3 separate regions of the Homo sapiens genome follow, and all the other regions are linked to region 2. The links are contacts of gene promoters, found by promoter capture Hi-C in human tissues and cell types (Jung and others, 2019). All regions are on one chromosome and are shown on one strand. The core of a region is centred on a gene start or on the middle of the fragment in contact, and the rest is flanking DNA. Distances in the headings are between cores, read along the strand shown.

Region 1 (3,875 bases), core at 352-2,851, 690 kb after region 2:
ATAAAATGAATTACAATAAATAGTATATAATTATATAACATATGCAATATGTATACACACATGCACACACAGAGGAAAAGATAAAATGCCAAGAATACGTGGTCACCATACCAAACAGCAAGCACTGGAAGAAGCAAGAAAGCATTAAAATAATTTTTGGGTAATAGATATAATACTAATAATCTATTTCAACAATGAGTGTAAATGGGCTATATTCCTTTATTTTATGACAAAAACTCTCAAATTGTATGCTTCCTATAAGAGAGGCTTTCAAAATAAAGTAAAACAGTAATGCAAAAAGCAAATAGGATCCAGCAATTCCTCTCCTAGGTGTGTACCCAAAGCTATTGAAAGCAGGGACTCAAACAAATACTCGTACATCAATGTTCATTGCTGCATTATTCACAGTAGACAAAAGGTGGAAGTGATCCAAGTGTTCATCAGCAGGTTGCTGAGTAAACAAAATGTGTTATATATGTACTAGAGAATATTATTCAGCCACGAAAAGGAATGAAGTTGTGATACATGCTAAAACACAGATGAACCTTGAAGACAGGCTAAGTGAAATGAAGTAAGTCAGACACAAAAGGACGGATACTGAGGTGCCTAGAATAGGCAAATTCACAGACAGAAAGTAATTAGAAATGACCAGAGGCTGGAGAGAGGGGAAATGAGGAGCTATTGCTTAATGGTTAGAGCTTCTGTTTGGGAGAATGAAGTTTTTGAAATAGTTGTAATAGTTGCAGAACACTGTGAATGTAATTAATGCCACTGAATTGTAGGCCTAAAAATGGTTAAAATGGTATATTTTCCCCCAATAAAAAATATATATGAAAGTAAATGACAGGCAAGGTTACATCAAGCACATACAAACATAAAGACAGCAGGAGCCCTAATATTAATTTCAGGCTAAGCAGGATTCAAAACCAAACAGATTCAATGCAACAAAGAGGTTTTATTATTTATTTATTTATTTATTTATTTATTTATTTATTTATTTTTAAGCGATGAGGTTCTCGCTATGTTGCTCGGGCTGGTCTCCAACTCCTAGCCTCAAGCAATCTTTCTGCCTTTATCTCCCAAAGTGCTGGGATTGCAGGCATGAGACACCATACCCTGGCCTTAAAGAGCTTTTATTTCAATAAAGGGTACAGTTATTTTGAATATATAACAATTATAAATCTTTATGCAATAAGTAACATAGCATCAAAATATATAAAACACATATACACATACATACACACCTCATTATCATTATCTAGGAAAAAAATAACAAGCTTGCCTAATTAAGTAAGAGACATTTTCCCTTTTCCATCTTCCCTCTCTTTGCCCCAGCAAGAGAGAGGAAGCACAGGGTAGAACTGAGGGGATTGTGAGGAGCAGACCCTCCCTACTAGTCCTCCATACCCACTGAAATCAGGAAATTTTCATCAATAGTTTATTACCATCTAATCCTCAGATTTTATTTGCATTTTGCCAAATGTCCCAATAATATTCCTTATGCCAAATGTCCCAATAATGTTCTTTACATCAAAAAGAATCAGTTCAGAATGATGTGTTGCCTTTAGTGATTAGCTTCTTGTCTCTACAGACTCCTTCACTTTGGAACACTTTCTTCATCTTTCTTTGACTCTCATGACATTGACACTTTTGAAGATTACAACCCATTTATTTTGTTTAATATCCTTTAATTTGGGCCTGTCTGACTTTCCTTAAAGTTAGATTCAAGTTATGTGTCTTAACTAGGAACAACACAGAAGTGATGCTTCTGTGACCTTCTCATTGCAATCTTGCAGGTGGCTCAGGATGCTGATTCATCCCATTGCTCATAATGTTCATGTTGATAACCTAAGTTGATAAACAAACCTTGTATCTGCCAGGGTTCTTCATTATAGTTTTACTCTTTTCCTCTATGTAATTAATAAGTACTTCGTGAAGAGATATTTTGAGAGTGTGTATCCCATGCTTCATTAAACTTTTATTCATTTATTTATGTCAGATAGTCTTATGATTTCCTGTTCTATTCAATAAGTTATCGTTTGTTACTATCACTATTTATCTTAGTGCCCAAATTGCCTCTGATTTGGTGTTTGGTAGCCCCTTTAAGCTGATTCATTTTGACATGTTTCTATCATTCTTTAAGCTACCTTGCTTTCTAGAATGATAGTATATTCCAGGATATCTTGCACTTTCTCTATCTAAACTCTGGAGTCAGCCATTTCTCCAGGGAACTCTTGTTCCTTTTAATGGAGAATGTTATTTAGAAGCCAAGACCTGAACACTAGGTGTGCTCATTGCTACTGGGGTATCACTACCCCAGGCCCTTTCAGTGGACATTAAGTTGATAAGCCTGCTGTTTGCCAGGATTCTCCATTGTAGTTTTATGCTCTTCCTCTGAAGATGTGTGTATACATATATCCCCATATATATATATATATATATATATATATATATATATATATATACATTTACATCTATATTTCTATATCTGTCTCCATATTTTGAAATCAGTGAGCTCACACCAACAGCCCCAATTCTAGTCCAATATCACTGGATTCATTCTAGTTCTCTTATTTTCTACATGTTATAACTCCCTTCCCTGAAAGTGAGAAATATCATTCACATTATCCCTAATACAGTCATCCCTCAGTATTTGTGGGGTATTGGTTCCAGGACCCCCCACGGATGTTCAAGTTCCTTATCTAATATGGTATAATATTTACGTAGAACCTATGCACATCTTCTCATATGCCTTCAGTCATCTCTAGCTTACTTATAATATTGAATACAATGCAAATGCTATGTAAATACCTGTTATACTGTATTGTCTTTTAATTTATTTTTTAATTATTGTAATTTTTTTTTCCCTGAATATTTTTGATCCAGTTGGTTGAACCCATGGATGCAGAACCCATGAATACAGAGGGCTGACTGCCTATTTACTTATTTGATCAATTCCCTTTATGTAATCAACCTCCAACTGCACCTTCTTCCCTGTGCAGATGCCCTCCTCACAACATCTGAGCACCAGTCTGCCTTTCCCACCTGGAAGCCTTCTTCATCCTGCTGGATTCTGACACCCTATGCTGGGCATCCCCTCTTGAATGTTTTCCTCTTATTCTCTGATGCCTCATGCTGTTTGCACGCCTCCGCCCCTGAACCAATATTCTCACCCCACGCTCAGGCTCTGCACTCTGTGCCTGGCAGCACCCCTGCACAATGCCCTTGGTGCTCCACCTGGGCTCTGACAGCCTGCTTCCGGTTACCAAGGCTCTCCCTCACCTCTGCAGACACTGACCTTTCTTGGCCATAGCTACTGGCTTTTGGAGGAATAGAAGGGAAGAGAGAGAGGAAGAGCTCCAACAAGTTTAATAAAAAAAGAAAAATCAAAAATTTAACATAGAGAATAATAAAGAAGAAATGTGCATACAGACACATAAAATTTTTTAATGAGAAAAGAATGTATAAAAATGGTCAAAATGAGTAATATAAGAAAACATAAATGGCAAATAAATTGGCAAAATGTAGCCAAATCATAATAGATCTGAAGAAACCAAGAAAGTTATTAAAGAGTTGCATTCAGAAAAGGAAGTGGTTTTATGGGTGGATTATTTTAAATCTTTAGGAAATAGATAACTTTCTGGGGAAAGTACAAAATGTGTATGATCGTATTTTTTGAAAATAGCATAACTTTACACCAAAAACCTGAGGATGAGATCCCAGAAAACTATAATCCAATTTCACTTGTGGCAGGAAGTGAGTGGGAATTTTTCAATTGCCTCAGAATGAGTAATTGACACCCAAAGCAGTAGATCTAAAGAAAGCCACTGGACCAGTTTGAGCTCTCCAGTGAAACAGAACAAACAGGATATGTG
Region 2 (3,651 bases), core at 1,081-3,580:
AAGGCCATATAATGTGTTCCTATATCACAAGATACTTCTCTTAAGAACTATACTTGGCTCATTGTAGCCACTGTTATCTTGGTCACCTTTAACTTTGATTTAACTGTTCATATTTTCATTCAACCAAAAAACATTTATAGAGTCTGTTATGTGTAAACCCTATGCTAGTTGATTTCAACCAATATTACCAAACATCTTTGAGTTCCAGTCCCTGTGCTAGGCTTCCAAGATTAGTGATAATTCAGGCCCATTCTTTGCCCTGTCATTCATTAATTCATTCCATATTTATTGAGGGTCTAGTATGTTCAGGATTTGGAGATAAAGCAGTGATCAAAACAAACATAAATTTGTTTATTAACCTCCAAAGTGTTTATTGTGAACCCCAAGTAAGTTTAGTGAGGAAACAATCAATGGGTGAGACAATCACACAATTAAGCTCTTCTTTCTTCATCCTTCTTTCTTCTTTCTTCTTCTTCCCTTTTCCTTTCCTGAACAATTCAATCCAAAATCATGAGGTGGGGTCAAGCAAGGTAGCCTTCTAAGGGAGGAAAGGCTATGAGAGCTAAATGCAACACATGATTCTTGACAGGACATTTTTGCTATAAAAACATGATTGGGCCAGCTGCAATGGCTCACGCCTGTAATCCCAGAACTTTGGGAGGCCAAGGTGGGAGGATCACTTGAGCCCAGGAGTCTGAGACCAGCCCTGGCAACACAGTGAGACCTAGTCTCTACAAAAAATTTTTTTAATTAAGAAAAAACAAAACAAAACTGAGTGTGGTGGCACACACTTGTATTCCCAGGTTGTGGTGAGAGGATCACTTGAGCCTGGAAGGTCAAGGCTGCAGTGAGCCCTGGTTGCAACACTGCACTCCAGCCTGGGTGACAGAGTGAGACCCTGTCTCAAAAAACAAACTAACAACAAACGTTGGGACAATGGGTGAACTTAAATGGGATGTGAGGATTACATGGTGGTAATGTACCAGTGCTAATTTCCTGATTCTTTTCTGTTTAATTTTTTTTTTTTTTTTTGTCGCCCAGGCTAGAGTGCAGTGGCACCATCACAGCTCACTGCAGCCTCTGCCTCCTAGGCTCAAGCAATCCTCCCACCTCAGCCTCCCGAGTAGCTGGGACGACACGCGTGCGCCACCACACATGGCTAATATTATTTTTTGTAGAGACAGGGTCTTGTTATGTTGCCCAGCCTGGTCTCAAACTCCTGGAATCAAGGGATAGAACTGCCTCTCCCTCCCAAAGTGCTGGGATTGCAGGCGTGAACCACTGCGCCCGGCAATTTGCTGATTCTGATGGCTGTGTTGTTATTTAGGGAATGTCTGTAGGAAATACTATAGTCTTCAGGGTTGAAAGGGTATCAGGTTGACAACTTACTCTAAATGGTTCAGGGCAAAAACATTTCTTGCAGTGTTTCTTTACGTTTGAGATTGGGTAATTAGAAAAGCGTGACAAGTGCTCAGGCAAAGGGGCATGCAGGCTTTAGGGTTATTCCTAGGATCCTGGGTGTTGGAGGCGGGTGTTGAGGGTGTGTGGAAGGAAAAGAGTCTTGAAAGAAGGTGATTTGGAAGACAGAGGGGAGTCAACCGGAGTTCTTGCCCTTCAATAGTACGCATCTTTGGGCAAAGGGGGCCTCGGCCAGCGTCCATGCTTAAAGGCCCTGCTTTCGCCTTCTTTCTGCTCTGAAAACTCCCCGTGCAGAAGAAGGGTTGAATCCGCAGTGAAAAAGGGACATGTCCATCAGCTCGGACTCCCTCTTCTATTCCAGTCCAGAATCTCCTGCCCAAAGGCTCCGGGGTTGGCTGGGCTTCTGTTCCATCACCTCAGTGTTGATTGGGCCACAGGTGTGCACGCCACAGCCCATGGCGGGGAGCTGTTTGTCGGACTGTGGACAAAGTTTGTACCTAGAGCTGGATGTCCACGTGGGTGGGTGGGAAGCCCTAGAGAGGGGCGGCTATTCGCCAGCGGCCACATTTAGTTGGGGCTCAAGCAGTTCCTGTCAGAGAATTCTAAATTTGAACTTGGTCCTTCAGGTCTTGGGAAGATGAGTTTGTCACGGTAGGAGAGAGAGACGACACTCTCTTTAGAAGGTGCTGAGCCGGAAGAAGGCTCATAGCAAGCTTAGGCTGAAGCCTTTGGCGCCTCGGGCTCTGGACCTACAAAACCCAGAGTGCACGCGAGCGCTGAGCCAATCAGGTGCTGCGCCTCGGCCAGTCAAGCGGGTGTGTGGCACCTTGTGGGCGGAGACCACGCCTCTCTACGCGGGGGGCGGGGACACGCGGCTCGCGCGCTGTGGGCGGTGCCCGGCGGGGCCACGCCTTTTCCGGCCCGCAGCGCGGCCTGGGCTCCCGCGTGTTTAAAAGTGCGCTTGTGGCTGCTGCTGTCTTAACTCCTGTGCTTGGCGGACAGACAGGCGAGATGGCGGCGGAGGTGTTGCCGAGTGCGAGGTGGCAGTATTGTGGGGCGCCCGACGGGAGCCAGAGAGCTGTACTGGGTAAAGACTGCGGAGCTGGAGCAGTGCTCCTCTAACCCTCTCCCCTTCCGTCTCGGTACCTCAGCTGTCCTCTCGCCCTCCGTTGGGCTTCTCCCCAGCGGGGCCGGGACCCCTCTAGTCTCCACCACTCCCCTGGGCTCTGTCAGGGCTCCCCTGTCCGTCTTTCTGTCACTACCTCCCAGCCAGATTGGGACATCCCACTCACCCGCTCCCCAGAGCTGTGTCCAGGACCCTGCTGACCCCCTCACCCACCAGGTCTCCCGCCTCCCCCATTTCCCTCTCTTCACTGGGCAGGGGTTCCTTCTGTCACTTTAGGTATGTACCAGGCCTCTGCTGTCAGCCTCCTTCCGCGAGACATTCCCTCCTGTCACAGCCCCTCCCCAGGGTTCTCCCACCTCCCTACCTCCTCTTCTCAGCTGGCCCCGGATCTCCTCCAGTTCCCTTTGGGTCAGGACCCGAGCTTCCTTGCCATCCCCATTCTGACACTCCCTCCCAGTGACAGTCTAGTCCCACCGTACATTGTGTGGTACATTGTGTGGCCTTCTGCTCTCATCTCATTCTTGGGCTGCACTCTTACAGTCCAGTTCTCCAACGGGAAGCTACAGAGTCCAGGCAACATGCGCTTTACCTTGTATGAGAACAAAGATTCCACCAACCCCAGGAAGAGGAATCAACGGATCCTGGTAAGTGAAGCAGTTGCCAGCTGTCTCCACTCTGCAGGGCTCAGAAGGCCCCTGGGAGTGGGTGGATGTGGGAGGGAGTGAGGGGAGAAAAAGGGGAGTAGTAGCAAATGGAGCTTTGAAGAACTCTGATGCCCAGCAGCCTGGGATGTGGGGACAGGCTCCATCTTTCATTCATTTGTTCTTTCAACAAGCATTTATGGAACCTGCCCCTCTGCATCCCTGTGCTGCAAGCTTCTAGGAAAACAGCCAAATCAGGCCTAGCCCCACTCAGAGTTCATACTCTAGAGCAGGGTTTCTCAACCTCAGGACTATTGACTTTTTGGGCCAATAATTCTTTGCTGTGGGGGCAGCATCCCTAGTCTCTACTCATTAGATGCCAGTAGCACCAGAGTGGATTTCCCTGGATTGAGAACCTCTGCTCTAGAGAGATGAGAACTGGCTGTGAGGGACACTTTTACACAA
Region 3 (3,800 bases), core at 1,299-3,798, 600 kb after region 2:
GTTTCACCATGTTGACCAGGCTGGTCTTGAATGCTGAACTCAGGTGATCCTGAGTTCTGCTTTGGCTTACCAAACGGCTGCGATTACAGGCATGAGCCACTGCGCCCAGCCCTTTGCCCATTTTTTAATTGAGTTATTTAATAATTAAAAGAAAAGCCAGGCGCGGTGACTCACACCTGTAATCCCAGCACTTTGGGAGGCCGAGGCAGGTGGATCGCAAGGTCAGGAGTTCGAGACCAGCTTGGCCAAGATGGTGAAACCCCATCTCTACTAAAAATACAAAAAAGTAGCCGGGCGTGGTGGGTGCCTGTAATCCCAGCTACTCAGGAGGCTGAGGCACAGAATTGCTTGAATCCAGGAGGTGGAGGTTGCAGTGAGCCGAGATCGTGCCACTGCACTCCAGCCTGGGTGACAGAGCAAGACTCCATCTCAAAACAAACAAAAAACCCTTTTGCTATTGAGTTGTGTGAGTTTCTTACATCTTTTAAATATTAATCCCTTATCAGATATGTGGTTTGCAAATGTTTCCTCCCAATCTTTAGGCTGCCGATTCATTTTGTTGATTGTTTCCTTTGTTATGCAGAAGCTTTTTAACTTGATGTAGTTCCACTTGTTTATTTTTGTTTTCATTGTCTATGCTTTTGGTGTGATACCCCAAAAAAATCATTGCCAAGGCCAGTGTCAAGGAGCTCTTCTTTCGTGTTTTTTTTCTAGGAGTTTTACAGCTTTGGGTCTTTCATTTAGGTCTTTGATTCATATTGAGTTGATTTTTGTGTCTGGTGTAAGGTCAGGGTCCAATTTTATTATTTTCCATGTGAAAATCCAATTTTCCCAATATCATTTATTGAAAAGACTGTCCTTTCCCCATTGTGTGTTCTTGGTGCCCATGTTGAAAATTAGTTGACCATATATACTCGGGTTTATTTCTGGGCTCTATTCTTTCCGTTGGTCTATATGTCTGTTTTTATGCCAGAGCCATACTGTGTTGACTTGCTGTACTTTTGAAGCACATGCATTCTGGGGTTCTGTTCCCAGATCTCTTAAATTGAGGAAGCAGAACATGACTCATCCCTGCCTTCCTGGCATCCGGAGGGGGCTCCAGGAAAGTTGTGGCATCCAGTTAGCCGCTTCCACGTGAGTCCCAGTCCTGCTGACATGTAAGCCTGTCCCCAGTGTCGCTGAGCCAGCTGCTGTTCTCTCCACATCAGGTACAACTAATCTTAGGAATCTCATTACGGGTCGAGAAATAATCCTCTATATCTAGATTAAAGTCTGTGTTTTGACCATTACCGCGCACTGAGCATTGAGCCAACAGTTTAATTGAGCTGTTTATGCCGCTGCCTTGATCTCTTCCCAGAGAATTTACAGCTAATTCCAAGTGTCTCTGTGAATTAAGTGGGCCTCTCCCAACATGCTTTGCCCGGTGTTTGCCTGTTTCAAATCCCACTTGTCCTTGTGTTACCCAATGATGGGCTCTCACTCACAGCTGTCTCTGACCCTGCCGCTTACAGCCCACTTCCTCCCTGAGGTGGCCATTAATGATATGGTCCCAGAATGGCCATAACCCAGGATAGCTTCTGTTAATACCTACAGCAATAGAAAGGGGGGTGGAGGTGAGGATGGGGTGGAGCAGAGAGGTCATAAATTATGACCTCAGTGACCCCTTTGAAATCACCTCCAGGTGACTAACAGTCACCTCTAGCAAGAGGGTACATGCCTTTAGCGAAGTTAAGTGTAATGGAAGCAAAGAGTTCCAGTCTGGGGTCAAGACTCCTGAGTTCTTACCTGACATCCTCTGTGATCTCTGGGGCTACAGTTTCCCTGTTTGCAAAACGGGAGCTGGCAGATCATTGTTTTCCATTCAGGATAGTAGAGGTGTCTTAGGATAGGGCTGCCATATTTAGAAAAAACAAAACAGGCTGGGCATGGTGGCTCATGCCTAGCACTTTGGAAAGCCAGGGCAAAGAGGATTGCTTGAGCCCAGCAATTGGAGACCACCCTGGGCAACATAGTGAGACCTGGTCTCTACAAAAAAATAAAATTATGCTGGGTGCTCATGCCTGTAATCCCAGCACTTTGGGAATCTGAGGCAGGCAGATTGTTTGAGGTCAGGAGTTCAAGACCAGCCTGTCCAACATGGTGAAATCCTGTCTTTACAAAAAAAAACACAAAAATAAGCCAGGCGTGGTGGTGGGTATCTGTAACCCCAGCTACTTGGGAGGCTGAGGCAGGAGAATCGCTTGAACCCAGAGGTGGAGGTTGCAGTGAGCCAAGATCGCACCATGCACTCTGTCCTGGGTGACGACAGAGCAAGACTCCTAAAAAAAAAAAAATAAATAAATAAAAAAATTAGCTGGACATGGTTGTGCAAGCCTGTAGTCCCAGCTATTCAAGAGGCTGAGATGGGAGGATCACTTGAGCCTGGGAGGTTGAGGCTGCAGTGAGACATGATTGTGCCACTGCACTCTAGCTTGGGTGACAGAGGGAGACTCTGTCTCAAAAACAACAACAAAGGACATCCATGCAATAGTTGGGACATACTTATAGCTAATTCTTATTTATTTACCAGAAATCCAAGTATAACTGAATGCTGTATATTTTCTCTGGTGACCTTACTCAAGGGGCTGTGTACGCAGGGCCCTGATCTACAGGTGGGTGCTAAGAGAGCAAATGAGTTGAATTGCTTTGTAGCGATGCATCTTAATGGTCAAACTGCCTGCATCTGGCAAGTGCAGCATAGATTATGGAGGCTGCAAATCCACTGAGTGCAGTGGCTTTTTCAGTCCCAAACTTCAGACTGATAGCCGTCTTGAAGGCCACCACTGGAACCTGGGGCTTATTGGCAATAGGTCAAGTTAGGCCCATAAGAGTCAGAAGTACACAGGGGCATGTAGGGGCAGAAAGGTCTGGGTCAGAGAGCCTGAAGGTCTGGCAGAAGGATCTGTGGAGCTTGTAGGCAAGGAGGAAGTGAACGTGGGGAGAAAGGAAATCAGGCCTGGTCAGAGGACATCACAGGTCAGCCAGGTGCCAAGGAGTCCCCGTGTTCTAAGGGTGCCGGCAGAGAGAGAATATCTGCGGATATCTGCAGGGCTGGGTGGGCGGTCAGACCTTGAGGCTGTGCTTGCTTTGCTTCAGAAGCAAGTGGTGATCAAGAACACAGCAGTGTTTTTCTGCAACTGAGGAGGACTTAAATACTACGTGCCCACCAGCACCTTTAGGTTTTCTTCTATGGGGGATTAGCTTTGGGATTACCAGGTGCCCAGGATGTGTGATCCTCCTCTTCTTGAGAGAGGTCTGGAGACCAGGCAGCAGGGGCTGTGCATTATTTACTTCTGCCCACCCTGGTGGGTGGCCGAGTGCCTGCCAAGTGTTAGCCCCAGTGACTGTGTATGGGATTGAATCCAACAGACATTCACTGAGTCACAGTTCTTAAATCTCAGTTATTACCTCCGGCCTTAAACCACACCACCATGTGTAAAAGGGCACCTTTATCTTTGTAGAATCATTGCAGACTCTCCTCCTGCTGGCTGTGTCCATCTCTCCCTCCCTTCCACATCTTCCTGCAGAGCATCCTGTCTGTGCACAGAAGTCCAGATGTTAGACCCACCCAGCTCCTGGACCTGGGCTTTGTATACTGACGGTAACAATTGAAACAAAAGACATACCAGGCACTGTGGCTCACGCCTATAATCCTAGCAGTTTGGGAGGCCAAGGTGGGTGGATTGCTTGAGTCCGGGAGTTCGAGACCAGCCTGGGCAGCATGGCAAAACCCCATCTCTACAAAAAATACAAAATAAAAT

Evidence for each region. The method cuts DNA at HindIII sites, captures the fragments that hold promoters and counts their contacts. A contact is called where the count stands out against the background at its distance.
Region 1: a contact is called between a fragment that was not itself captured here and the fragment with the promoter of POLR1E in region 2, in 1 of the 25 tissues and cell types used here (dorsolateral prefrontal cortex).
Region 3: a fragment that was not itself captured here is called in contact with the fragment with the promoter of POLR1E in region 2 in 1 of the 25 tissues and cell types used here (lymphoblastoid cells).

The regions. Positions count from the first base shown.
Region 1 is chr9:38,174,645-38,178,519 of GRCh38, forward strand. No RefSeq gene overlaps it. Among named protein-coding and RNA genes, the nearest start is that of SHB, 110 kb to the left of the region's middle. The HindIII fragment of the contact is 4,381 bases long and covers 1-3,792 here.
Region 2 is chr9:37,483,618-37,487,268 of GRCh38, forward strand. It overlaps POLR1E (RNA polymerase I subunit E), which reads left to right and starts at 2,331. Exons shown (of 12, transcript NM_022490.4): 1 at 2,331-2,506; 2 at 3,086-3,189. The coding sequence starts at 2,431. RefSeq lists an enhancer at 1,796-2,387 and a silencer at 2,129-2,458. The HindIII fragment of the contact is 4,331 bases long and covers 1-3,631 here.
Region 3 is chr9:38,078,473-38,082,272 of GRCh38, forward strand. No RefSeq gene overlaps it. Among named protein-coding and RNA genes, the nearest start is that of SHB, 11 kb to the left of the region's middle. The HindIII fragment of the contact is 6,447 bases long and covers 1-3,800 here.